7 separate regions of the Homo sapiens genome follow, and regions 1, 2, 3, 4, 6 and 7 are each linked to region 5. Evidence: promoter capture Hi-C in human tissues and cell types (Jung and others, 2019). All regions are on one chromosome and are shown on one strand. The core of a region is centred on a gene start or on the middle of the fragment in contact, and the rest is flanking DNA. Distances in the headings are between cores, read along the strand shown. Region 1 holds the start of RPS27L (ribosomal protein S27 like). Region 2 overlaps USP3 (ubiquitin specific peptidase 3). Region 3 holds the start of PLEKHO2 (pleckstrin homology domain containing O2). Region 4 holds the start of OAZ2 (ornithine decarboxylase antizyme 2). Region 5 holds the start of SNX1 (sorting nexin 1). Region 6 overlaps LINC02568 (long intergenic non-protein coding RNA 2568). Region 7 overlaps SPG21 (SPG21 abhydrolase domain containing, maspardin).

Evidence for each region. The method cuts DNA at HindIII sites, captures the fragments that hold promoters and counts their contacts. A contact is called where the count stands out against the background at its distance.
Region 1: a contact is called between the fragment with the promoter of RPS27L here and the fragment with the promoter of SNX1 in region 5, in 1 of the 25 tissues and cell types used here (hippocampus).
Region 2: a contact is called between a fragment that was not itself captured here and the fragment with the promoter of SNX1 in region 5, in 1 of the 25 tissues and cell types used here (H1 embryonic stem cells).
Region 3: a contact is called between the fragment with the promoter of PLEKHO2 here and the fragment with the promoter of SNX1 in region 5, in 1 of the 25 tissues and cell types used here (liver).
Region 4: a contact is called between the fragment with the promoter of OAZ2 here and the fragment with the promoter of SNX1 in region 5, in 1 of the 25 tissues and cell types used here (hippocampus).
Region 6: a contact is called between a fragment that was not itself captured here and the fragment with the promoter of SNX1 in region 5, in 1 of the 25 tissues and cell types used here (aorta).
Region 7: a contact is called between a fragment that was not itself captured here and the fragment with the promoter of SNX1 in region 5, in 1 of the 25 tissues and cell types used here (pancreas).

The regions. Positions count from the first base shown.
Region 1 is chr15:63,155,251-63,158,799 of GRCh38, reverse strand. RPS27L (ribosomal protein S27 like) reads left to right here and starts at 1,323. Exons shown (of 4, transcript NM_015920.4): 1 at 1,323-1,400; 2 at 2,279-2,387; 3 at 3,069-3,179. The coding sequence starts at 1,395. RefSeq lists a silencer at 950-1,049 and enhancers at 1,231-1,804, 1,200-1,859, 2,010-2,099, 1,384-2,583. The HindIII fragment of the contact is 14,496 bases long and covers 1-3,549 here.
Region 2 is chr15:63,563,050-63,566,673 of GRCh38, reverse strand. All of the region lies in intron 8 of USP3 (ubiquitin specific peptidase 3), which reads right to left. Among named protein-coding and RNA genes, the nearest start is that of FBXL22, 33 kb to the left of the region's middle. The HindIII fragment of the contact is 6,097 bases long and covers 1-3,624 here.
Region 3 is chr15:64,839,896-64,843,576 of GRCh38, reverse strand. PLEKHO2 (pleckstrin homology domain containing O2) reads right to left here and starts at 1,662. Exons shown (of 6, transcript NM_025201.5): 1 at 1,549-1,662. The coding sequence starts at 1,560. LOC124903508 (a long non-coding RNA gene) reads left to right here and starts at 3,421. Exons shown (of 4, transcript XR_007064682.1): 1 at 3,421-3,681. RefSeq lists enhancers at 455-1,006, 1,039-1,562 and silencers at 1,370-1,809, 1,820-2,139. The HindIII fragment of the contact is 9,878 bases long and covers 1-3,681 here.
Region 4 is chr15:64,701,190-64,704,843 of GRCh38, reverse strand. OAZ2 (ornithine decarboxylase antizyme 2) reads left to right here and starts at 1,563. Exons shown (of 5, transcript NM_002537.3): 1 at 1,563-1,815. The coding sequence starts at 1,796. It overlaps LOC124903507 (a long non-coding RNA gene), which reads right to left and starts at 301. Exons shown (of 3, transcript XR_007064679.1): 1 at 212-301. RefSeq lists silencers at 1,428-1,747, 1,758-1,977 and an enhancer at 3,606-3,654. The HindIII fragment of the contact is 8,869 bases long and covers 1-3,654 here.
Region 5 is chr15:64,093,784-64,097,647 of GRCh38, reverse strand. It overlaps SNX1 (sorting nexin 1), which reads right to left and starts at 1,666. Exons shown (of 15, transcript NM_003099.5): 1 at 1,476-1,666. The coding sequence starts at 1,634. It overlaps CIAO2A (cytosolic iron-sulfur assembly component 2A), which reads left to right and starts at 3,810. Exons shown (of 5, transcript NM_032231.7): 1 at 3,810-3,864. RefSeq lists enhancers at 1,343-1,422, 1,563-1,682, 3,398-3,864. The HindIII fragment of the contact is 3,698 bases long and covers 1,485-3,864 here.
Region 6 is chr15:63,410,440-63,414,040 of GRCh38, reverse strand. The region is part of intron 4 of LINC02568 (long intergenic non-protein coding RNA 2568); the gene reads right to left. Among named protein-coding and RNA genes, the nearest start is that of LINC02568, 22 kb to the right of the region's middle. The HindIII fragment of the contact is 3,934 bases long and covers 7-3,601 here.
Region 7 is chr15:64,982,667-64,986,622 of GRCh38, reverse strand. It overlaps SPG21 (SPG21 abhydrolase domain containing, maspardin), which reads left to right. Exons shown (of 9, transcript NM_016630.7): 2 at 3,030-3,116. The coding sequence starts at 3,054. Among named protein-coding and RNA genes, the nearest start is that of SPG21, 5.3 kb to the left of the region's middle. The HindIII fragment of the contact is 4,494 bases long and covers 1-3,956 here.

The sequences.
Region 1 (3,549 bases), core at 74-2,573, 940 kb after region 5:
TGGCCAACATAGTGAACCCCCCCCCCACCATCCCCCGTCTCTACTAAAAACACAAAAAGTAGCCGGACATGGTGATGGACACCTGTAATCTCAGGTACTTGGGAGGATTGAGGCAGGAGAATCGCGTGAACCCAGGAGGCGGAGGTTGCAGTGAGCCAAGATCGCGCCACTGTACTCCAGCCTGGGTGACAGAGCAAGACTCTGCCAAAAAAAAAAAAAAAAAAAAAAAAAATCCAGTTAGACCAATTTTCTGGTAAAGTGTCTTTCTGGTTTCTTGCCTTTTGGTCGCCCATGACACCCATTTTTCAAGCATAGAGTTTCCTCCTCAAAAATAGAGCATGCTGTCACGCGCCGGTAGTCCCAACTACTTGGGAGGCTGAGGTGGAAGGACTTCTTGAGCCTAGGAATTGGAGACAAGCCTGGGCAATATAGCAGGACCCTGTCTCCAAGGAAAAAAAAAAAAAAAAAAAGAATAATGGCGTGTTCCTGTGGTCCCAGCTACTCGGGAGGCTGAGGCGGGAGAATCGCTTGAGCCCAGGAGGTCGAGGCTGCAGTGAGCTGTGATGGCACCATTGCATTCCAGCCTGGGCAAAAAAGCGAGACCTTGTCTCAAATAATAATAATGATAAAGACTCATGTTCGGTCATCGGTGACATTCGCCTTTCTCAGGCCCCCTAGTTGTCCACTCTGCAAAGGACGAGTAATCCTCGGAAGGGGTGGGGCCTCTTAGTGAATGAGGCACAGCAGCGAATCCGTGCTGTTTTAAAAACTTTTTTTCAGAACAAAGCAAACCTAAGGCACAGCCATACCCCGCAGAAAACTTCGAAATCTGCGCCTTGAAAAGGGAAGCCAAAAGGATACGAGCCTCTTTCATAATCTCTCTGGCACGTATTAATGGTTAATAATACTGTATTTTTTAATACACAAAAGAAGAGAATAGTGGCATTGCCCCGTGTGCCCACCCCCAGAGCTAACCGAGAGCGGCCGGGCCAGGGGGCCGGGGGCTGAGCGGCCCGCCGGGTTCCGGGGTGGCGCCGGCCCCGGTGGCCGCGGGCGCTCCCTCGCCATGGCCTAAGCCCGAGGCCGCTCCCCAGCCAGATTCTGGCCTCAGGCACTGCAGAGCCCGCGGCGCTCGCCAACAAGCCCGTTAGACCCACGGGACTTGGCACCCTGGAACGCTCACCATCCCCGGGTCTTCCCTGCGCCCTGGACCCGAGTACCCTGCTGCGGCGTCCCCCTACCACCGAGAGGAGGGCCTAGAGCAGACAAGCCCGCCCCGCCGCTCCTCCCAGCAGCTTCTATCCCGGAAGTTGATGCCGAGCGCAGATCGCTTGCAGCTTGCTAGCTGTGTGGGCTGGGAGGTCTGGTAGGGCTGAGCTTGCAAGAGGATCAACATGCCTGTGAGTTGTTTACATCGGGCTCCGGGTTTGTTTTGGGCTTCTTTACCGAGAGTCATATGGGACGGATGAGTCCGGCTGCCTCTCGGGCCTGTAGTGTCCGAGAGTGGCGAGGCGGCTCAGGTTGCGCAGCGTCTTCGCGCGTGGCGGGCATGTAGTGACTTGCCCGGTCACCGCGGCGCGGCTGGCCCTGCAGGGGCGTGGGCTGCAATTCAGAGGCGGTGGCTGGGAGGGGAACAGTTCTCTGTGTAGCTTATGAGCGGTCTTGGTCTTTGAGGATGCCCCTGAGGTTGTGATCTTTGGGTCTTTTGGCTTTCCCAGTGATTGGTGTTTCTCGCCCCCTCTGCCTTCTTTCGGAAGCGATTTCCTACTTGTTTTCCTTTTTTAAAAACTGTCCTCGTTGTTGCCTTATATATTAATTCCGTCAAGGACGGTCGCTCAGCAAGAATTCCTGTCAGATCAGCTGTTGAGCCACAGGAGCAAAAATCACCCAGGCGCTGACGTTGTCTGGTCTACTTCAGCAGTTTCTACTCTAAGCGAGTCCACAGTCGGGGTCACTTTCTTTGCTTAGCACCTCGACTTCGCGCAGTTTTCATCGAAGACAGTTCATTACGCAGTTGAGTAAAGAAGGACAAAGTTTGCCTTACCATATGTTTCCTGATCGTGCGAAAGCCCTTTTCTAGGGACTTGGAGAACACAAGTATTATGAAAAGTACTGATGAAAGTTATTAACAGGTTTCGAAAAATAACTTTACTATCTGACGTGTTGCTTCTGCCGAGGATGACCGTTATTCCTGTTTTTGCATGTATATTTCACGTATGGTTAAATGTGCCAGCGTTGTGGTTTAAAACTAATAGTAATAATATGCTTCTTTGTTCAGTTGGCTAGAGATTTACTACATCCGTCCTTGGAAGAGGAAAAGAAAAAACATAAAAAGAAACGCCTAGTACAAAGTCCAAATTCTTACTTTATGGATGTAAAATGTCCAGGTAAAATTTGAAATCTTAATTCCTTTACTAAAGAAAATTTCTGTAGGGATTGCTAGTGTGGTGTGTATAGTTAAGATACATTAGAACCCTCTGTTGAGTAGAAGTGGGATTACAGAATTGGAAATGTCAGGGACATTTTCATAATAAATGTACTGAAACCATTGTAGAAACATTTCGGGGTAAGTGAAAACAGGCATTCAAAGGAGATATGCCATTTGACTTAGCAAGTCTTTAAGCTCTTCAGACGATGAGTTTTCTGTTTCATGATACAAAGAAAAGTCTGTTGATTCTTCAGTCTAAAGCTGTGCTGCCCAATACAATGGCCATTAGCTGAATGTGGCTACTGAGCACTTGTGGATAATCAAAATGTGGATACTCAAAATAGAGATGTTCTTTAATTGTAAAATACTCACTGGATTTTGACGATGTAGCACAGAAAAAAAATACATTGATTACATGTTGAAATGATATTTTGGAAATATTAAGTTTAATGAAATATATTATTGATTTTACCTGTTTTTAAAAAATTTTGTGTCGCTGCTAGAAAAGTTTATGTTACACATGTGGCTTGCTGTTTCATAGCACTGAAGTTACTGATTTTTTTACATATTACCAGAAATGTCGAACAGGTGCTGTTTTCCTCTGCTTTTCATTTTTAACATTGCCTTTTTTTTTTTTTAGGTTGCTACAAGATCACCACGGTTTTCAGCCATGCTCAGACAGTGGTTCTTTGTGTAGGTTGTTCAACAGTGTTGTGCCAGCCTACAGGAGGAAAGGCCAGACTCACAGAAGGTATATCATTTGGCATTCTCCAACCCAGTGATGAGATTGATGATTATAAATGTCTCTATCTTCACTGAAAAGTTTAAAGAAATCTTAATGATTACCAAAATAACTTATCTTTCATTGTGTGCTTTCAGTAAAGAATGGCCTGTTCAAATGGATATATTTATACTCTTGACCTTGCAGTGAACTCCATTGACTTATTTTTCTTAGTTTAGAACACATTTATTCACTTAGTTTGCTTAACTTGGAATAAATTAAGTCAGAATAGAAGCAAAAGAATAACTACATGTTATAGGACATGCAGATTTATTTATTTATTTATTTATTATTTTTTTTTTTTATTAGGAGTCTCGCTCTGTCACCCAGGCTGGAGTGC
Region 2 (3,624 bases), core at 553-3,052, 530 kb after region 5:
TTTTCACAAATATCCCAAAAAGACTATTGTTAAATAAAACTTTAATTAAAGTATCACACGTGGCCAGGCACGGTGGGTCACAACTGTAATCCCAGCACTTTGGGAGGCCAAGACGGGTGGATCACGAGGTCAGGAGTTTGAGACCAGCCTAGCCAACATAGTGAAATCCCGTCTCTATTAAAAATACAAAAAAATTAGCCAGGTATGGTGGCACGCACCTGTAGTCCCAGCTACTTGAGAGGCTGAGGCAGGAGAATCACTTGAACCCAGGAAGCAGAGGATCCTGCAGTGAGCCCAGATCATGCCACTGCACTCCAGTCTCGGCTACAAAGCGAGACTCAAATAAAAAATAAAATTAAAAAAAAAAAAAGCATCACAGGCAAAGATCTATTTTTTGTCTACAAAAATCCTTTACATTGTCTATAAACCTGAGAAGAGCAAGCAAATATAAGAATTATGTGCCAATGATTATTTACCCATCATTTTAAACATTAATTATAACAAGAACTGATTTAAAAAAATAAAGTTCCATCTTGGGAAGTCAAGACAAATATATTAAATCAGGTTGTACAGAAAGACCTGATTTGAATCATCAAGAGACTTTCCTGAAGAGTGTTAGCTTTAACCGGGATCCTAGACAAAGAGATAGGGACCACAAGGCAAATCCTGTGGGCAGAAGCACATGACATACAGAGACAGCAAAGCAGCAAGACAGAGCTGTGTTAAGAAAAGCAAGGAGTGACAAAGGCTAGCAGAAAAGACTATCAAAATTACAGAAGAACATTTCCTTGAGCCCGGCACTTTCTCTCTTAGATACCTGCACATGTATGTAAAATACTACTCACTGCAGCACTGTTTAGAACAGCAAAGACTAGAAACAGTCCATAAAGCCACTGGGAGGGGACTTGGACACAAATTATGATACAACTGTAAAATGGTCTGAGGAAGCTATTTGTATACTAATATGAATCATCTCAAAGTGGGGAAAAAAAGATGATACATCACCAATTACATTAAAAATGACATAAACACACACACACACTTGTCTGTATATGCACACAGAATATCTGAAAGGATACACAAAACTCTAGTAACTATGGTTGCTTCCAGAAAACAGAATGAATGGCTAGGGAACAGAATAAAACATTCACTGCATATTCTTTTGTTACCTTTTGAATTTTGAACCACATATGTTTTTGCCTATTTAAGAAAATACACTTTAAAGTATTTTTATGAAAAGCAAAAGGATAGAAAGAGCTGAACATACTAAGAAATCATAAGAAGTGTGGTAAGTACATATGTATGTTGGAAAAGGTCAAAACTTCAAGAAAATTTTCCCTGCTAGGTAACTGGCTTTTAGTTTCAGTGGGGAAAAAAAAGAAAGAATAGGCTTAATGATTTCTCTATCCAAAGCTGCTGATTACATTGAGGGTGTGTGTGTTTTGGGGGTGTGTGTATGTATATATATTTGTGTATTTAATAGATGAAAGATGTTTCTACTTCTACACGCATGTTTGTATTTCAGAGTCCTCATATTTCATCCCAAAGGATCAAGTTCTCTAGACACTGTCTGTCATGTGTTAATCAAGGAAAATGGGCTTTTTAAACCTAAAAAAAATTTCTTTGGGATTATAAATAAACATAAATCAAGATTCATGCACTTACACACAGGCATGTTATAAGAATCTTACCTGCATACCTCACAGGGTAAGAGCTGTAAAAAGCAAGCCCCACCTCCCTGCCTCACACCTGGGCATTGTGCAGTGACCTGCACTAAAGCTTTATCCATGATATAATCTCAAGATCTAGATCTGACCAAGAGAAAAACTGTTCTTTGATTACATAAAAATGGGGAACAATCTCAATTACTGCAGAACTAAGAGCAAGCCCAGCTAAGAATACAAAAGCACCCTATTCTCATCAGCCATTCAAGAAATTTAAGAGTTCATGTATGATCTGAAATCTTCCCCAGAGACTCCACATGCTACATTCGTCAGCCTGGTTACCTTATTCCTTCATCAGTAGGAATATTCCAATGTGGAAATTAAACAGCTAAAAACTACATCATGCTCACAGTTGGGCTACAGAAGCTAGAAAGGACAGAGATGTGGAAAGATTTACAGGAAAAGCAGATTTCTACTGTATAAAATATGATAATGTTTCTAAGCTTTCAAGAATGAGGGATCTTGGTCACCATGGGGATCAAGGAAAACAGTATCAAATTAGTTAACGGGCCTTGTTCAAGGTATGTGGGCAAATCATTGTCAACAAATCTATTATTAGCCAACTCCACAAACACCTGGACTCTAATTTTGGTCATTACCCCACGAGATGTATAAACTTAAACAAGTCGCTTCTCCTCTCTGTCTCAGTTTTGTCTCCTCTAAAATGGGGGCAATATTTCCTGCTTGGCTGGAATTTTGTTCTTGCTTGTTTTTTAATGAAGACCAGATAAAAAATACCCAGTGGGTGGCACACAGTAGGCATTCAATAAATGTAAACTATTATTATATAATAATAAAACACAAAGACTAAACTTCTATCAAGAGTCTACTAGGTGATTTATGTTAGAAATTTTTTTATTAGGTCCAGACCTGGACAGTGGTAACTTAACTGTCATTCCTGCCTTTCCTTCTTAAAGTCAAGACATTCTCAAATTCTTATGTTTTTCCTGACAGGAGATTTAAATAGTATGATACATAAAAGGAGTTTCTTTCAAAACCAAGACTAGGGTTAACACTAGTTACTCATGTCAGATCCTCAAGACTAGACTTTTTAGCAAGGCAACAATTTAAAGTCCTTTGAAGTTAATTACCTTTTAAATATTTATCTATATTAACTACATCTTTTTAGGCAATAGGGCAAGATAGATGACTAAGTTTACTACAGCATGAATTTTTTTTAAAGAAAAGTAGAAGGGATGTATATTAGGTGCCAAAATCATAACTAGTAAGAACCATGACTTGCTTCAGAAGGGTAAAATCGGCAGAAGGTGGCCAAGGCTGCTGTCAAACACCTGTAGTGCCTCAAAGCTGCTATCACCCGAATCCCTACAGGGATGACAGACCTACGAGAAAAGGCAGGATTCCTCTGACAGCTAGGTGTACAGCAGAGGTGTATTTTGCTCAAGCGAGGTGAGACAGAAAGCATGGGCACCACAGCAGCTCTCTGGCCACACCGGGATGTGGCACAGCTGCCTTCTGGAGAGTGCATCCCAGGCGCTTGACCACAGCCTTCCCAGAGCTGCCGAACTCAGCTCCGAACAGTTCATATAATACCATGCACTTCTACTGATCTTATTAATTTTTTTAGCTGGAATAACAAGACAGTGTGTGATGGTAATTATTCTACATTGTGAAAGAATTAAGGAAATTTTGTCCAGTATGTTTTCCTAGTGCGCATAAGTTATTTATAAGGGCTTTATGTTTATAGCAACAAAATACCCCACCTCTTGTTAAAGACATTTCTATAGTCTATTATTTAAATAAACACATGTGTTTAGTCAGATGTATTCAATTTCAGCTCTTCTTCTTAAAAAGAAAAAAACACCAAACCAGTCTTAAGTATTTAGAATATTTAGAATACAACCACTTCATTAGGAATTATTTCAGGAACAGTATAAAC
Region 3 (3,681 bases), core at 413-2,912, 750 kb before region 5:
AAAGTGACAATGTGAGAGATTCAGGACCAAGGGTGTACAGAGCTGAGCCGGGCCCAGGAGGTGTCCGGAGAACTTCCCTTAATCAGGGGCCAGCGCAGATCAGGAGATGGAGTAATCCTGACCCACATCCTCTGGGAGCAGGGGAGGGGCCCTGGCCAGAGAGCCCAGCCCTTGCAGCAGGGGCCTGGGGCAGGCAGATGGCAGCCCCACCTAACAGCCAGAAAGAAACCGCAGCAAATCACAGAGGCCTGACTTTGCCCCCTACCTTCACCCACTGAGAGAACCGGCCACTGTCAGGCCAGGAGTATGAGGAGGACAGGCACTATATTTTGTAGAAGAGGAAATGAAGGCTGAGAGGGGAAGTGACTTATCTACCATCCCACAGAAAGGCAGGGCCTGGCCTAGAGGGAGCCCTGACGGACCACTAGCTGCTCCTATCCATGGCCCTGGAAAAGTGGGAGGTGGGCACTGAAGGGACACAGGCAGTCCGGTCCACTCAGGGCTTCCCAGCTGGCCAGGGTTCCCCCAAGGCAGAGAACTTCATCTTTCCTCCCCATCCAAGGAGGCAAAGACATGCCCCTTCCCTTGGGCTGAGAGGGGCTGAAGCTGGGACCCCCTCAGGGGATAAGAAACAAATTCACCTTCCTCTAGACCCAACAGGCCCCTCATTTTAACTTAATCATTCCACAGGCATATATTAAGTGCTTGCTGCGTGCTGGACCCTCGGATAAAGCGGCTGCTGGCAGAACTGAGTTTGCAAGTAAAGGGCAGGGGCAGGGGCAAGACCCAATCCCAGGCCAAGAGTGTTTTGAGTGGTTAGAAGGAGGCTCCAGGGACACAGTTGGTCCAGCCCTCGGGTGGGGAAGGCAGGGACTAAGATCAGACCCTAGGTGGGCCGGACTCCCGATTCCTTCCCTACAGCTAGCTGCTCAGATGGATGTGGAGCGGGGAGAGAGTGGGGGAAAAGATACAGAGACTTATACAAGGGAGAAAAAAGCAACTTCTCCAATCCTCCTGCCACCAAAGCATGGTCACATCCTTGAGACAGGAACCCCCCAACACACACATACACACACACACAGAGTCAGGATCCGATCCTTGAGACAGGAACCCCCCAACACACACATACACACACACACACAGTCAGGATCCGACACACACACACACACACACACACACACACACAGAGAGAGAGAGAGAGTCAGGATCCGACCACGGTAATCGGGGTTCGAGCCCAGTCACCCAGGCCACTTTCAGCAAGTCATCAATCTCGCTGGAGTCTCAGTCTCCTGGTCAATCCAATGGGAACGGTAACAACCACGACGCCCCACAACTGGTGAGAAAGTCAGCGAGAATGAAGGAGGACGCGGTCTGCGAAGTCCCCGATATGGATCCAGCCCCTCGCCCCTGCCCCATTTGCCCAGGCTCTTCCTGAGGTGAGACTGGCGGGAGTGGGGCGGGCAGGAACGAGGGCCTGAGCCCAGGACCGCAATCCCCGTGAGGGGCTCGAGGACCCCAGCCCAACGCCCCGCCGGGCCCCGCCCTCACCTCCTCCTCCATGGCGAGTCCGCCGAGGTCCCGCCGCTCCGCCACTCGCTTCCAGCGCCGCGCGGGCTCTGCCACCGCGTCTACGCCCGGCCAGGCGGCGACTCTCCGCGTTCTGTCCCGCCGGCTGCCGGGGGCCCAAGAAACTTCGGGGGGGCGGGGCCGGGGGCGGGGTGAGGCTTCCGGGGGCCGGGGCGGGGCCGGGGAGGGGGCGGTGGGGCCGGGGGCCCGGCCCAGGGCGGGAAATGGGTGGGGAGGGGCGGGGCCTGGGTTGGAGACTGGACGGAGGAGCCGGGCGGAGATGCAACTGGAGGAAGAGGGCGGGACGGGGCGGAGAAGGTTTCCCGCATCGGCGGAGGGAGAGGGACTAGGAGGGGGCTGCGGCGGGGGAGGAGAGGGGGCTTCCGGCCCAGAGACTGAGGCGAGGGTGGCGGGAGCGGCGCGCAGGCAGGGCTGGGGTGGGGCGCACACAGTGAGCGCTGGGGGCGCTGGCGGTGGAGCCTTTGAGGTCTCCCGAACCAGTGGGCTGGGGTTGCGAGACCGAGCCGAGCTGCCCTGGGCGGCCAGAGATGTGGGCACACAGAGGCTCCTCCTCTTTCCTCCCCGACGCCGGGCAGTGGGCGGTGGCCTGGTCTTCTCCCTGGAACCTCTGGGCGGGGCCGGGCCTGGAGCTTGGGTCTCTGTCCGGAGGGTGGTGTCACAGGAAGAGCTGGAGCTGAGAGTCGGGACTCCGGGGTCCCTTTAGGGGGCGGCCCGCCCCTGGCTCTCAGGGGTCTCCAAGCGCAGTGTTCTCCTGCTCTCCTTGGGCATCGCTCAATCCCTCCCGTATCTGAGGGTCGACCATCCCCCCGATCCCGCGGTGAGCTTGCAGCCCTGACAGCCTTACTGGAGAGTGGGAGTGTGGGGACCAGCAGAGAGTAATGATTTTAGTTATACCATGCGCCCTCATTTTACATTGGAGAAACTGAGGCCCAGAGAGAGAAAGTAACTGGCTGCATCGCAGCCTGCAGCACCGCTCCCCTCTCACACACACACGCATACTCCCCCTTAGCTCTCCTGGTCAACCCCGTCCCATGCCAAGGAAGGGAAAATTAAGTGCATGTGAGATCAATGGTGACCTTCTTCGGCTCTGGCTGCCATAGCAGCGGCTGTGCCAGCGACCAAGCTCCCCTTTCACGGCCTTCTGCCAGCCCTCAGGCTCCCAGGCTACTTCCAGCCCTGTACGGAAAAGGGCAGCCTGGGGCTCCCAGGCCAAGGGGGAAGGAGATGCAGGTACACTTCTCCCTCATGCCTAGGCCTGGGATCCTTTAGCTAAAGGAATGAAGAAAATTGAGGCTGATATTATCACACTGGTCAAGAAAAAGAAAGAATAGAAAAGAAAGAGAGAGGAAGGAGAGAGAGAGGAAGGAGGGAGGGAAGGAAGGAAAAAAGGAAAGAAAGAAAAAGAAAAGAAAGAGAAATGAAGGAAGGAAAGAAAGAAAAGAAACAAGGAAGGAGAGAGGAAGGAAGGACGGAGGGAAGGAAGGAAAGAAAAGAAAGAGCTGGGAGCGGTGGCTCACACCTGTAATCCCAGCACTTTGGGAGGCTGAGGCAGGCTGATCACCTGAGGTCGGGAGTTCAGACCAACCTGACCAACGTGGAGAAACCCCGTCTCTACTAAAAATAGAAAATTAGCCAGGCGAGGTGGTGCATCCCTGTAATCCCAGCTACTTGAGCGGCTGAGGCAGGAGAATCGCTTGAGCCCGAAAGGCGGAGGTTGCAGTGAGCTGAGATCACGCCATTGCACTCCAGTCTGGGCAACAGGAGTGAAACTCTGTCAAAAAAAAAAAGGGAGAGAGAGAGAAGGGAGGGAGGGAGGGACGCAAGGAGGGAAAAGAGAAAGAAAGAGAAAGAAAGAAAGGAAAGAAAAAGAGAGAAAGAAAGGAAGGAAGGAAAGATGAAGGAAAATTGAGGCTGAGGATCTGAGATAGTCTGTATATGTAGCAACCTCTTTCGGCCACCACATGGTTTTACTCCCTCAATCTGCAGAGCTGTGCAGCATTCTACTCCAATGATCAAGGACTCAGAAGATCTTGTATCTGGAAACTCATGCTCCACCTGCAGCAGACCAGAGACCCTGGGGAAATTCATTTTGTT
Region 4 (3,654 bases), core at 314-2,813, 610 kb before region 5:
ATCATCCAAAACCCAAAAGCATGCTGTTTGTGAAGGAGAGTAACCATATCCTGAGATGACTCCAATGTGAGATGTTTGTGAACTGAAAGTCATAGTGACCGCCGATCTGGAGTGTCACCCTTTCTCTGAGTTATCACTCTTTCTGCAAAGCTGTCCCTAATTCCCTAAATTACTTTCTCTGTGGCATTCCTCAGATTGAGCACTTACTTACCTGGTATTGTGATGACCTGTGTCTCTCCCCTTGACCGGATTGTGACATCCAAGGCAGGAACCTTGCCTGGTTGATTATGGCGTATTCTTGGACTCTAGCACATGCCTGGAGCATACAGTAAGTAGCTATTCAATAATTATTTGTTGGCCGGGTGCGGTGGCTCATGCCTGTAATCCCAGTACTTTTGGAGGCCGAGGCAGGTGGATCACCTGAAGTCAGGAGTTCAAGACCAGCTTGGGCAACATGGTGAAACCTCGTCTCTACTAAAAATACAAAAATTAGCCGGGCATGGTGGTACATGTCTGTAATCCCAGCTACTCAGGAGGCTGAGGCAGGAGAATCGCTTGAACCCGGGAGGTGGAGGTTGCAGTGAGCTGAGATTGTGCCACTGCACTCCAGCCTGGGCCACAGAGAGAGACTCCATCTCAAAAATAAGTAAATAAATAAAATAATTATTTGTTGAATAACTGAATGGATGTAATCTGAGGTGACAGAGTGACCCACTGTGATCTGAGATAATGTGACCTCTCTTGATTGCAATCTGGGTTGACTGTGAACAGAGTCGGGGCTTTTGATGATTGTGTTGAAGTGTCTGTGATTGTAACCTACAAGGACTGTGATCTGAGGGGTCTGCGCACCGGTGACTGTGGCCTTCAGGCACTAATCTGTCATAAGGACCAGTAGGGATAATGAATGGAGGTGACTGAACTAGTAACCTTGCATGATCGATTGAAGTAACTTGCACTGATTGTGATCTGAAGTGACCGTGAACAAGTTAGTGACGACGCTTTCCACGACTGTCTTGTTGTGACTGTGCTCATGATCTACAGAGTTCTGGCTTCAGATGACCTAAGCCAGTGCTTGGAGCAGCCTTGACGATTGACATGAGATGTGTGCGAGATGCTGAGATTGTTGATCTACCCTGACAGCTGAGGTTATTGATCTGCATTATGAGCTGAGATAACAGATCTGTGGGCCTGGACTCAGACTAGGAATGGTGCTAATATGTGTGTAGTTCTCTTAAGATTTCTGATTTTGTTTTAATATCCTCCCAAATGGCACAGCCCTGTTCGGCCCCACGCCAACAAGGAATAGGGATGAGGACCAGGTTGAGTCAATCCTCACAGAAAACTACCGGAAACACAACGCATCTTCTGGGCCGCGCTGCCGCAGCTGCGGGCAGACCCACCGCCTTGGTCATGGCCTCCTGCACAGCCTGCCCTTCGTTCGGACCCCCTAGCCCTACCCCCACGATCGGTCCGTGGTGCGCCTGCGCGGAGGCGGGGCGGTGCTTTGCCCTTTGTTGTGGGCCCCAGTTTCCCAGGACACCGCGCGGCGCTGGGGTGGGGCTATGCAGATGAGGCACTCGGGGGCGGGGCGGCGGCGGCGGCGGCGGCGGTGGCGGCCGGGGAGGGTCAGTTGGAGGCAGGCGCTCGCTGAGGCAAAAGGAGGCGCTCGGCCCGCGGCCTGACAGGGACTTAGCCCGCAGAGATCGACCCCGCGCGCGTGACCCCACACCCACCCACTCATCCATCTATCCACTCCCTGCGCCGCCTCCTCCCACCCTGAGCAGAGCCGCCGAGGATGATAAACACCCAGGACAGGTAACGGCCCGGCCCAGGCTCCCCGCCCCCATCCTCCCTCATCTGCTCCAGAGGGCCTCTCACGTACCCCTAGCCGGCCCCCGCCCCCCGCAGCGGGGCCATCCGCCCCCAGCCAGGTCCGTTCACCACTTCAGCCACCCTAGTCCGGTCCTCAGCCCTGCAACTGGGCCTTCTTCTGTCCTTTAGCCCCCTCTTCAGCCGGGCCCATCCCCCTCATCCGGGCCTTCTCCTCCCCTAAAGCCCCCAAAAGCCGGAACCCAACCTTCCAAGCAAGTCCCCTTTTTTCTTTCAGCCCCACCGAATTGTGCCCCATTCCCCAAACTGGGCTTTCCCCGGCATCCAGATTCCCCAAATTGTTTCCTGTCTTCCTCAAATCTTTCTTACTCCCCTTATAAGTCACTTCACCCTTCCCTTTGAATTCCCTCCCTGATGAAAACTGCACCCCCCACCCAGACTCTTCTCATATCACTGCCCCCCGCAAAGTCAACCTCCATCCTTCAGTTCTCAGTTTACCCCCACTCATCACCCTCCCCCCATTCTCTTCAGGCCTAGCAGTCCTTACACAGATGTCCAGCCTCTTCCTCCTGGTCCCATACTTCAGCTTCATCTTTCCCCCACCTTCCCCTCTCCACACCCCTCTCCCAGTTAGGCCCCATTTTCCCAGTCTCCCAGCGCCATTCCTTTTATTTATCAAACACCAGGTTTGATTCTTGTGCTCCATCCTGTTGCCCCAATGGTATACCCCCAACACTCTTGGAAACATTCTTACCCTCTAAACATCTTTTCTCAGCTGGAACTCATCCTTCTCCTTCCCCTCTTAACTGAATCCCGTCTTTGGATCATTAGATCACAGGACCCAGCCATCTCGCTTCCAGTGAACCTTCCCCCTGTACCTCCAGTGCCTTCAAACCAAGCTCTATATTCTGGACACTAGATCTTTGCAATTTCCTCCCTCAAAACCCGACCCTAGTCTTCCCCCATTAATTAGAGAAAGGCTGCACATCTTTCTCAGACCGAGCACCCTGGTTTTCCAAACTTGCATGGTATATCCTTCCCCCTGCAGATAGTTCCTCAATTTTCCTTTCTCTACATGCCTCTCTTTCTCCAAGACAACCCTTCTCACCTATCTCTCCCTCAAATTTTAATATATCCCATATTTCTGCCTCTGTTCTCTGAAACTGTTCCACAATTTCCTAATTCCCCGGAATTTTTAATCCTAGTTGCTCCTTATACATCAGAATGGCTTTCATTTACAATTTGGACCTAATTCTCTTCCTCATTTTTTCCCCAAACTTGTTGCTGTCCTGTCCAAACCGTGTCTGAAGCTCATTAGTTCCCCACACCAGACCTTTTGTCCCCAGATTTGGCCTTATGGCCTCTGCCTCTCACTTGGGCCTCATTATTTTGCAAGCAGATCCATTCCCTGTAAATCTTCCTTAAATTGGGCCATGTTCTATTCAGAATTAGACTAGTTCCTCTCAAATGCATTGCCTTCTTTATTGCTTTTCTTTGCATAGAGCCCTCTAACTGCCACTCAGGATTCCTCTCAAACTTGGGCACTCTTCTTACTGAAATAGTCTCTCAACTTTCCTTTCCCACTTGTTAACAGCACCAGCCTTAAATATTCCAACTGGGTTTTCAGCTTTTCTTGTATTTCAGTGTTTCTTACCCTGGCTTCACATTTGAGAAATCAGTCACTTGGGCCTTACCTTCAAAGATTGGTCTCATTGGCCTAGAGTGTCCTGATTATTAGCATATAGTTTTAAAGCTCCCCAGGTAATTCTTTATAATGCAAAGCTGGGGTTAAAAACCACAGCTTCCTTCCTGCAGCTTTTCCCA
Region 5 (3,864 bases), core at 417-2,916:
TACTGATTTCCACATTACAAAGATTATTTTTTTCTAATACCTAACTCTTATTAGAGACCCGGATATTTATTACTGAGGCAGGAGAATAGGGTCTGGAGGCAGGGAACTTAAGGGCAATTCATGCTGAATCAAGGAAAAACACCAAGGTTTGGGGGCAGGGAATCTGAGGTCAACTTACGTTAACTTTCTAAAAGAGAAAACACCAAGGTCTGGGGGCAAGGAATCTAAGGCCAATTCGTGCTGACTTCCCAAAGCTGAATTCCCAAAAGGAACCCCCTGGGTTTGGGGGCAGGGAACCTAAGGCCAATTAAGGCCAACTTCCTAAAGCTAAACCAAAAGGAAAAAACCCATCTGCCCACGCCCGAGTGGCAAAGGATCAAAGGCTACTATCCCTGCAACCCTCCCCATCCACCACGTCTCACATGGAAAGGGAGAGTGCCTTAGACTGGCCGCAGGCCAAGCAGGGACCATCCGTTCATCTGCACAGGACGCCAATTCACCTCGGCCTTTAGCCACAGACCAAATCCTTCATCCAGATAAGGGGTAACCCATAGGAACCATAAAAGGAGCACTTAAAATCCAGAAAACTTTGTAAGTGGGCTCTTGAGCCCCTTGCTCCGGCCCACTCACACCCTGTGGGGTGCTTTCTCGCTTTAATAAATTCCTGCTTTCGCTGCTTCGTTTGTGTTTCATTCCTTTGTTATTTTGTGCGTTTTGTCCAATTATTTGTTCAAAATGCCAAGAACCTCGACAACCTACACTCAAGGGCCTCCTACCGGTAACATTACGGGAAACACCATTTCCTCATCACATTTCAGATTTGCTCCCAGTGAGGTACGTGGGCACTTGAACACATCCCTTTAAAAAGGAGAAAGCTTTCTGATCTATGTAGTGATTTATCTGGCAGTGCCTTCTGTCCACCAGCCTCTGGCCTGATTTTCCTAGAGATCAGAAGAATCAACATAACTTTTGTAAACTAAGATCCAGAAAGGGCCTTTGGTTATTATCGGTAAATGCTGGGCTAAAGAAAGAACTGGTGGGCGGGTCACCACCCCAGGCTAGTCCACATAACGCTATTCATCTTAGAAGCAGTAAGACGGGGGAAAGGTCTGCATCCCATTCGCTTATTCCGTCCTACTGAATCTGCCTTGGCAGGACACGACCTGCAAAATAACCCCGTGGATCCGTGGAGTGTCACCACACTGCAGGGTCAAAGGACGGCGTCGGCGGTTCTCGGCTGTTAGGGAGCTAGCCGACGAAGGCACCACAACCCTCATTCTTTACTCTTCCCGCCTGGGGGCCGGGAAGCCAAGCTCTACCGCTTCGAGCACATCCAGGGTCCCCGGGGCCCGGACTGCTGACACCGAGGCAAGGTCTCACCGGGCCCACTCTGCCCAACCTCCCCGATTCTCGCTTAGCCTCTCTTCCCTTTCGGGGTGCCCTCCCGCCTGCTACCCCGAGGGGTGCAAACTCACGACCACCGCGGCGCCGGTGAAAATGTCCTCCCCCTCGGTGTCGCTGTCCCCAGCCTCGGGTTCTGATCCCCCGGCCGCCCCCTCGGACTCCGGCTCCAGGCCGGGGAAGGGCGGAGGCAGTCTCTCCGAAGCGCTACAGCCACCACCACCCGACGCCATCTTCTTCCACCCGCGGCGGAAGCCGCAACAACAACTTTATCGAGAGATAGCGCCGTGAGCAAAGCGATCCAACGGTGCGAGGAGTGGGAGGGCCGCAAGGGACCCCGTGGGATCCGAGGGGCGGAGACCTAGGGGCGGGGCTTAGGCGCTGGGGGCGGGGCGGCACCCGGCCAGCTGAGGCTGCGCAGCAAATCCGAGGCCTGGTTCGCGATGCTGAGATATTAACGAGTGGGGCCAAAGGGGCAGAAAAGTAGGAGTTAGGGGCTGCTCAGGTTTCTAGGGCCCTTTGTGCTCTGGATAGCTTTATCCAACAGGCTTCTAAGAGTTCGTCTGAATGAAGGAGTGTCACTAAAATGTTTGAAAACCTCTACATGCCATCTACCCATGCCAAGCACAATGCCCTCACAGAGAGTCAATAAATATTTCGATTGAGGTATCTGAACAAGACTAGAAGAAAGCTTCACCACTTATTCCTTGAGCAACATTCAGTTAATTCATTAAGAAATACAGATACTGAGCATCTACTGTATGCCTGGCACCTTGCTGTGAGTTTCAGATACAGAAATCAGGTATTTAATCGACAGTTCGACATGTTCAATGCTATGGTGCCCTGTGGGAGCACAGGGAAAGAGATAATCAATTCTGCTTGGAGAAGTAGGGAGGCCTCACAGATGAAGTGAGGCCTCAGTGTCCTAGATTTGGCTGGAAAAATGTTAGGATTATCCTCTCAATTGCTGTGGAGTAAGTGGAGTGGAATAGACGGCAGGGAAATTATTGAACCCTGACCAAAATTTCCTTGGGACCTAAGCAATTCATTGTCTGGTGATCCTAAGGCCTACATTAACTAGACAAACAAGACTGGAGTTTAAAGATAAATGGGCATGTTAGCATGGGACAATTCTGCAAGATAATCCTATCTTCTCAATAGAAATGGCATTTGTCACCAACTTTGACAAGAGGTTTAGTTAGTTTGGTTGTAACTGCAAATTCAGGGATGGACTCCCTCACAGGTCATGTGAGCTGTTTGAAGGCGGGGGCAGCGTTTTATCTTTGTATCTTCCATGCCTATGGATCACCTATGGCAAATTAGTACCTACAAATTTGATCGGAGGGATGGATGGATAAAATAAAATCGATTTTGTTACTGGCATCCATCACACCCACGAACACCAGAGGGCTTAAGATACACTTTTTTTTTTTTTTTTTTTTTTGAGGGAAGTCTCGCTCTTCTCCCCCAGGCTTGAGTGCAATGGCTCGATCTTGGTTCACTGCAACCTCTGCCTCCTGAGTTCAAACGATTCTCCTGCCTCTGCCTCCCAAGTAGCTGGGATTAAGGCCCCTGCCACCACGCCCAGCTAATTTTTGTATTTTTTAGTAGAGACGGGGTTTGCCCATGTTGGCCAGGCTGGTCTCGAACTCCTGACCTCAGGTGATCCGCCCGCCTCGGCCTCCCAAAGTGCTGGGATTATAGGCGTGAGCCATCGCGCCCGGCCAAGATACACTTTTAAGGATGGCGATCTCCATTATGTCACCACTGTACACATTAGACACGGGAAAACTTATGTTCTAAGTTGTCTTTGGAGGCCATTAGCAGAAATATTCGTTCAAAGGTGGGAAGCTGTGCTGGACTGAGTCCCTTAGGAGACGAGAAAGCCAAAAAGCCCTCCCCATGCCATACCTGACTACCTCACTGGCTTCCCATGACATCCCTTTTCACAGCAACTGAAACCTACTTCCTGTCCGATCAGGAAGTAAGAAAGACGTTGGCTGTCAGCGGATCCCGCGGAGAAATAATTGTAAAGAGTCTCCGTGCTGGAGAACTCAAGATCTCCTTTCCCCTACCCCTTCAGGATTCATCTTTAACTTATCACGGATACTGAGTGAGTCAGTCGCGGTTAACAGACCGTTACATCCACTTCTACCAGGCGGACACTACAAGTCCCAGAATACAATTCGCTGCCTTCCGAAGAAAATAGCTCACGCATCCCAGCATGCAATGTGCTGACGAGCCGCGAAGATTGTTTTTGTCCCGCCGAAATCGAGCAAAGCACGCTGGAACTTGTAGTCCTTGAGGCCCCTTCCCTAGGTCCTTCGAGCTACTCCGTCTGGCCCCGCCTTTTCTCTGCTCTCCTGAACCTTTAGGCTTGTCTCGGCCCATTTGAAGACCAGGAAGTTGATCAATCCCGAGGCTGCTGAGAGACGGTGGCGCGATTGGGACAGTCGCCAGGGA
Region 6 (3,601 bases), core at 724-3,223, 680 kb after region 5:
CTGGGCTCTGTCTGCCATTAGAGACGCTTCAGTAGAAAACCCTGAGAAGCCCTGAGTTAAGTACTTTCATCTTATTTAGCACGGATGCACTGACTTCTTAGAAACTGCGTATCTGGTATCAAACATGAATGCCTTTGGCCAGTTTAAATGAGTTCCCATTTTCTTTTTGAAACTCCATCCTCATTTTCCTACTGATAGATTTGGCTTACTGCTTTGAGGCTCTGAAGTTTGAGGCTGCTTGCTTTAGGAAAATCTAGCTCCTTGCCATGGCTGCACATTGGTTCTCCTGAAAGTGTAAGGGCTTATTTTCTCTTGGAAATTCTGGGTCCTTATAAACCCAAAATCTGATGTGCTCATTCAGGTCTTAGGGCTTCCAGACCCAGAGCTCACCATGCACCTGCACCCAGCAGTGACTCTTCTGCCTTTCCCAGGGAGCGAGGCTTCATTGTCAGAGGAAGGGGCAGGAGGGACATCTTGTCCTTTGCCCAATCCCTGAACTTGGAGAGCCTCTCTTGTCCCTGCTTTGTCTGTGAAGCGGTTCCTAGTTGCTTTGAGATTTTCCAACTGAAAGCTGCCTTGTTAATACAAAGTAAGAACTAGGGCATTTCAGCCTTAGGGAAAAAACTATCAAACAAAACACAGCTCAGACACGGTTTTAGCATCAGAAGAATTTTTAGCGGGAGGGGACATTCAGTCCCTCTGAATTCGACATTGGAGTTTCTCACTGGGTCCAGAGATGTCGCTAGGCCTAAGGTGGCCAAACCCTCTGCCCTTGTCTTTCAGCAGAGGTGGCCTGCCATTGGCAGGCAGTGCTAAGTACAAAGGCAGCATCAACCCCAGATCAGGGCAGCTGAGGTCCTTGTTCGGCACCCTCTGCATTTCTCTGGCTTTGCCCCTCGCTGTGGAGTGAGAACAAGCAGCCAAGGGAAGCCAAGGACAAGGAACACTCCCCAGATCCCTGGGGGTCTCTGAGGGTCCTGGCATTCTCTGCTGAAGTGACCCCAAGCCCTCTTCAAGGGACTTGTTGAACTGTTTCCCAAATCCATCCTCCCAAAGGTGGGAAGTGCATCTGATGTACACACCTAGGGGCCCAAGAGGTGGTCAAGGGACAGCTGTTTGCTGGTGAAAGCACATGGTTGGAGCTTGGACAGAGTTGTTTGCATACATGCATGCAAAGCCCTCGGTGGTAAGAAACGGAACCGGGGTAAGTAGAGAAGTGGCATGAGCCGTGGGCCAGGGAGCCCCCATTTACATTCTCATCCCAGCCCCTGCAAATGTTAGGTGTGAGCCTGCCAAAGGAAGAACAGATGGAAAATCTCCAGAAAAAATAACAAGAATCATGAAACCAACACATTTACCAGAGCTCCTGTTTTGGTGGTGAGAGACGCGTCCCCAAAGCCACTGCACTGATAAATCTGGACACGAAGCTTAGTTTATTTTTCATTTAAAAATCAGATAAAATATTAGTTATTTCAATAATGGGTGCATTTATTTTTAAAAGGGTGATAATAGCTCCCTATGTGATTGTGAGGCTAAAATGAGAATGTGTGCCGTGGAGGGGAGCTATTATTACATGTTAATAAGATTCTTCTTTTTCTATTTTCCTCCAGCTGGTCCCTAAGATAATGTTCAAAGCTTTTTCTTTCATTTGTCTTGCTCTGTCTGGTGGGATATTGTTAATAAAAACCAGATACTAAGACATTTTTAAATGTCAAGTGAAGACAAGTTAATAATTGCTCTCCCACAATATGAGAGCAAACGGTGGTCCAGGATCAAAAGCCATGTTTTTCTCCTTTTTGGAGCTGCCAAAATTCCCTTAGGAGTGTGCACCAGGTAAGTGTAAGAACAAGTTCAGAATCTGAATGACATTGTCACAGCCCATGCCAGACCCTAGCTGAGGCCTCTCTCCACTTTGATGTGATTAAATCCCAGTCTTGTCTGCAAAGAAAGCACAGGCTGAAAAACCACGCAGATGAGCCAGGCAATCTGCCCAAATATCAAAACACAAGACCTGCGGATAGTCCTTCAGTGCCCGCGGAGTTGTAAGGGATGTGGCTTGTGCTGGGAAACACAGTTATCATCCCTTACACTTTGTGGAGCTCTTTGTTATTTGCAAAAGGCATAGACATGATTTCATGCCATCCTCCCACAGAGAGCAGAGCTTGTCCACATGGAGCACCTGGAGACGAAATCCTTGGCATTTCCAAAACTCCCGTTTTAGGGGGTTTGGACAGAATGACATTGGCTTTGTGGGTTGGGCAGGGCACCATGTTCTCAGTAAGTAGTGCATAAGTGGCTGCTGGGACTCAGTTGTGCCATCCTCTGCAAGACTCCTAACAAGTGTACAAGCCACAGATGCCTTCAGGGAAACAAAGTCTGGCTAACCCCACCCCCACCCCTGGGCCCCCAGCTGTGGCCCTTCCCATCAAGACCCTGCTCATGGGGAGGCTGCTGAGCTTCTACTTCATGGATAGGACTTTTTTATTTTTAATTTTTTATTTTTAGAGACTCCCTATGTTGCCCAGGCTGGTCTTGAACTCCTAGGCTCAAGCAATCCTCTCACCTCAGCCTCCCAAAGTGCTGGGATTGCAGGTGTGAGCCACTGCACCTGGCCTGGATAGTGGGTTGTGTCTCTGCTCTGCCTGCCCTGCAGGAATGGCTGCTCCTCACCGGGGTGGGCATCAGGAGACTTGGGGTTTGAGCCCCAAATGTCTGAAAGGGATCTCTGGTCTGCAGATCTGGCTGGACAAAGCAGCCTTGGGCATGTGAGAGCCTGGAGCTGGGCATGCAGTATCCTTATCATGGGAAGGGAAATGGGCTACTTTGTCAGCTTTTTCCTCTTTCAGCAGCACATGTTGCTCTGGCTGGGGAAATGGTAGAACTAAGATGATTCTCCAGAAGGCCTGTCAGTGCCGTGGGGCAGGAACAGCCAACCCCTTGCAGTTAGCAGTTCCCAGGAACCAAGTCTAGGTGTTTTCTCAAAGAGCAACAACCCCTCTTCTCTATGGTTCTGTGAGGCCGCCCCTCTTTCTCCAGATAGAGGAGGAAAGACTGGATGCCTCCTTCTGAGTCCTCATGGCTTTTAACCCTCTTGGAAGACAGAGGGAACACATCCCTGAGGGGGCCAGGGTGAGCCCAGGACGGGTGCAGAACCTGGGGTCCAATGCCCGGAACTGATGTTGGGCCCTAGGCTGGATCAGGTGGACAGAGCTTAAATCAGAAGTAGACTGGGCCTGCACTGAGAGTGAGTGTCACGAGGAGTTGAGGAGAGGTGGGGCCAGGGGTTCCAGGAGTGTCGAACCGATGATGGAAGCAGGGAGCAGGTGAGCAGGAGCCAGGTGGGGTGGGAGCCCCAGGAATCAGCAGGTTCCAGGTGGAAAAGAAGCAAGAGGATCAGGAATTTGGCTAGAGGTGACAGGGGCATATGGAGAAGGCTGCTCCTGACTGGCAGTCCTATAGATTCATCGGAGTTAAGAGAGAGAGACAGTCCACCCCAATTGTTCACTCCTATGAGGAATATTGTACAAATTAAAGGAAAAAAAAGAGAAAACCCTATAGGATTAAAAACTGGTCAGGCAGCCAGGTGCGGTGGCTCACGCCT
Region 7 (3,956 bases), core at 629-3,128, 890 kb before region 5:
TCCGCCTCCTGGGTTCAAGCGATTCTCCTGCCTCGCCTCCCGAGTATTTGGGATTACAGGCGGCCACTGCCATGCCTGGCTAATTTTTTTTGTATTTTTAGTAGAGATGGGGTTTCGCCATGTTGGTCAGGCTGGTCTTGAACTCCTCACCTCAGGTGATCCACCTGCCTCAGCCTCCCAAACTGCTGGGATTACAGGTGTGAGCCGCCGCGCCTGGCAAAATTTTTTAACATATTAATTTTTTTGTTTGTTTTTTTGAGATTGAGTCTCACTCTGTCGCCCAGGCTGGAGTGCAGTGGCACAATCTTGGCTCACCGCAACCTCTGCCTCCCGGGTTCAAGTGATTCTCCTGCCTCACCCTCCTGAGTAGCTGGGACTACGGGCGTGCGCCACCACGCCAGGCTAATTTTTGTATTTTTAGTAGAGACAGGGTTTCACTACCTTGGCTAGGCTGGTCTTGAACTCCTGACCTCGTGATCCACCTGCCTCAGCCTCCCAAAATGCTGGGATTACAGGCGTGAGCCACTGTGCCTGGCCTTAACATATTAATATTTAAGATAAAATGGATATGCAAAGAATTTTCTTTATTTCACTATATATATCTGTGCACACTAATTTTCAGTATAAGACTGGCTGATGATTTTCTTGGTACTTTAAAGCAACTTATGATTTTAACACACTTCTCTAAAATTACCATCTTAGCTTTGAGAAGAGAGACCATTATCACAATGTCAAGGTTGTAAATCAAGTTTAGTGTTAGAATGTCTACATCTGCTGTCTCCTCGGGGTTCAGCTTAGTACGTCTCCAAGGTCACAGTTGAGTCTACTGAGGGCTCTGTGTTCCTGAGGGAGCAGATCTCGAGGGCCACCAAGGAAGAGTTCCATTGAGTTTAGAATCCCCTGTTCCTTGCCAGTCCAGAGAACTCCCTCTAAAACGACAGTTCAGAGTCAGCCCGGGAGTTAGGTCTCACGAATCTCACCTCGTGTTAGCCGTGCTAGGATCAAGGCTTGCTCTTGAGGTAGAGGAAGTGGTACAAAGCAAATATTTGAATCCTTCCTGGTGGAATTTCCTCACTTGGCAATAAGAATCTGCAACAGGGAACTATAATTTCAGTTTCCTGTTATGACATAGCACAGATGCCTGAGCAAAGAGGGGCAGCCTTTTAGTTGAGGATGTTCAGCTAGGCCAAAGCTCACAGATGCCAGGGTTAGAAGGATGGCCCCCTTCATTCTCCTTAGAATGTAGTTATTCGTTCAATCAACAGATAATGCCTGCTGTGTGCCAAGCACTGATCTAAGCTTTGGGGACACAGTGGTAACACAGTCATAGATGAGGAAACAAACTCCAAAAGGATCAAGACTTATCTAAGATCACAGAGCTATGAAAACCAGAAGTCACTAAGCTCACAACAAAAGACTACACATTTTTTCCTAAGGGCAAATGTTTCATTTTGTTGTTAGTTATAGTGCCTTCAAGTTTACATTATAGATCTTTCTGAGGACATTGTGTAACTTTTAATCACGTCCATATGAGTGGCAAATTTGCCTGTATTTTGTATTAAGAACTACATGTAGGCGGGGCACGGTGGCTCATGCCTGTAATCCCAGCACTTTGGGAGGCTGAGGCGGGTGGATCATGAGGTCAGGAGCTCAAGGCCAGCCTGGCCAAGATGGTGAAACCCCGTCTCTACTAAAAATACAAAAAATTAGCCGGGCGCAGTGGCAGGTGCCTGTAATCCCAGCTACTCAGGAGGCTGAGGCAGGAGAATCGCTTGAACTTGGAGGGTGGAGGTTGCAGTGAGCTGAGATCACGCCACTGCACTCCAGCCTGGGTGACAGAGTGAGACTCTGTCTCAAAAAAAAAAAAAAAGGGAACTACATGTGAATTTCTGGTTATGTGCTATTACAGTTAGATTTATGGTGTATTGCGAATTTATCAGGAAGCAGGCTTAACTTAAACTTCTTTCTCTAGGCTGGGTGTGGTAGCTCATACCCGTAATCCCAGCACTTTGGGAGGCAAGATGGGAGGATTGCTTGAGCCTAGGAATTCGAGACCAGTGCAGGCAACACAGGGAGGCCCCCATCTCTACAAAACCAAAAAATTCACCTGACGTGGTGGTGTGTGCCCATTGTCTCAGCTACTTAGGAGGCTGAGGTTGGGATAATCACTTGAGCCTCAGAGGTTAAGGCTGTGGTGAGCTGTGATTGTGCCATTGAACTGCAGCCTGGACAACAGAGCAAGACTGTCTCAAAAATTAAAAAAGTAAAAAAACATCAACTCCTTTCTCTAGCGTGGACTATCCCTATAATCAGACAGGAGCATCTTTATTAAAGGGATTCTTAAGGTAATGTCAAAAGATAACTGATGGTACTGCAGTTGAGAACTAAGACAGGAAGTATGGTGTCAGAAAAGGCTGTCTCACATCTGGTCCTAGCATTGCCATGTGATCTTGGGTAAGTCATTTAAATTTTCTAGACCAGATTCCTTTTCTGGAAGAACTAAGGGTGTTGGAATAATTTCTGTAAGAGCTCTTCTGGTGGCCGGGCATGGTGGCTCACGCCTGTAATCCCAACACTTTAGGAGGCTGAGGTGGGTGGATCACCTGAGGTCAGGAGTTCGAGACCAGCCTGGCCAACATGGTGAACCCCCATCCCTACTAAAAATACAAAAATTAGTTGGGCGTGGTGGCGGGCACCTGTAATCCCAGATACTCGGGAGGCTGAGGCAGGAGAATCACTTGAACTGCAGGAGGTAGAGGATGCAGTGAGCTGAGATCACGCCACTGCACTCCAGCCTGGGCAACAAGACTGAGACTGTCTCAAAAAAAAAAAAAAAAGAGTGCTTCTGATTCTGTGATTGTAGTATTTCACCAAATTGTTTTCTGTAGTTGGACTATATACTGACAAAATAGCCAGTTTCCTTGGCTTTCTTCTTTAAAATATTGTTGGTATAGCTAGATGAGACTCTACATTTAGTTCTGATGTAAACATGAATTCTTGACGTGAAATATCACATGCTTTTATTTCAGGATTAACCTCCATTTCAGCTAATCATGGGAGAGATTAAAGTCTCTCCTGATTATAACTGGTTTAGAGGTACAGTTCCCCTTAAAAAGGTATGTATGGTTTTACTATACCTCTTATTTGCAAAATCTTGTATTGTTTTTGTGTGTGATTTAGATGTCATGTCTTAGTAGTGTTTGAGAGTAAAGGTTACTGCCGAGTATCATGACTGTGGGTTGCAGAGGATTAAGTTCACTCCTTCCCTGTCATGTACAGTCAACTTTTGAGACTCATTTTAGAGTGAAAGCAAGTGTAACTGTACTCATTTTTATTTATTTATTTATTTATATTTATTTTTGAGATGGAGTCTCGCTCTGCCGTCCAGGCTGGAGTGCAGTGCACTGCATGATCTCGGCTCACTGCAACCTCTGCTTCCCAGGTTCAAGAGATTCTCCTGCCTCAACCTGCCAAGTAGCTAGGATTACAGGCATGCGCTACCACACTCAGCTAATTTTTGTATTTTTAGTAGAGGCAGAGTTTCACCATGTTGGCCAGGCTGGTCTCGAACTCCTGACCACAAGTGATCCGCCCACCTTGGCCTCCCAAAGTGCTGGGATTACAGGCGTGAGCCACCGCACCCAGCCTGTACTCATTTTTTATAATTGCTTTTACATATACAAGCAAGCAGGTATGTATGTACTCTTCTGTATAGTTTAGTGGAAAGTTTACAGCAACTGTATAGTGAGTACAGTCAGATTATATTCCTGTTCCTCAGATTTAAGAATGGGGTCACATTATAGAGCTTCTGTTTGCAATGACATACTCATTCTGCCACAGTCATCTTCTAGAAGCTTTATTTTCCTGGGATGTTTGAAAACCCAAAACACTTATATTGCAGTTGAGTATTGACTCTGCTTCCCAAATTAATCCCAGATGTTTGGGGATCACACTAG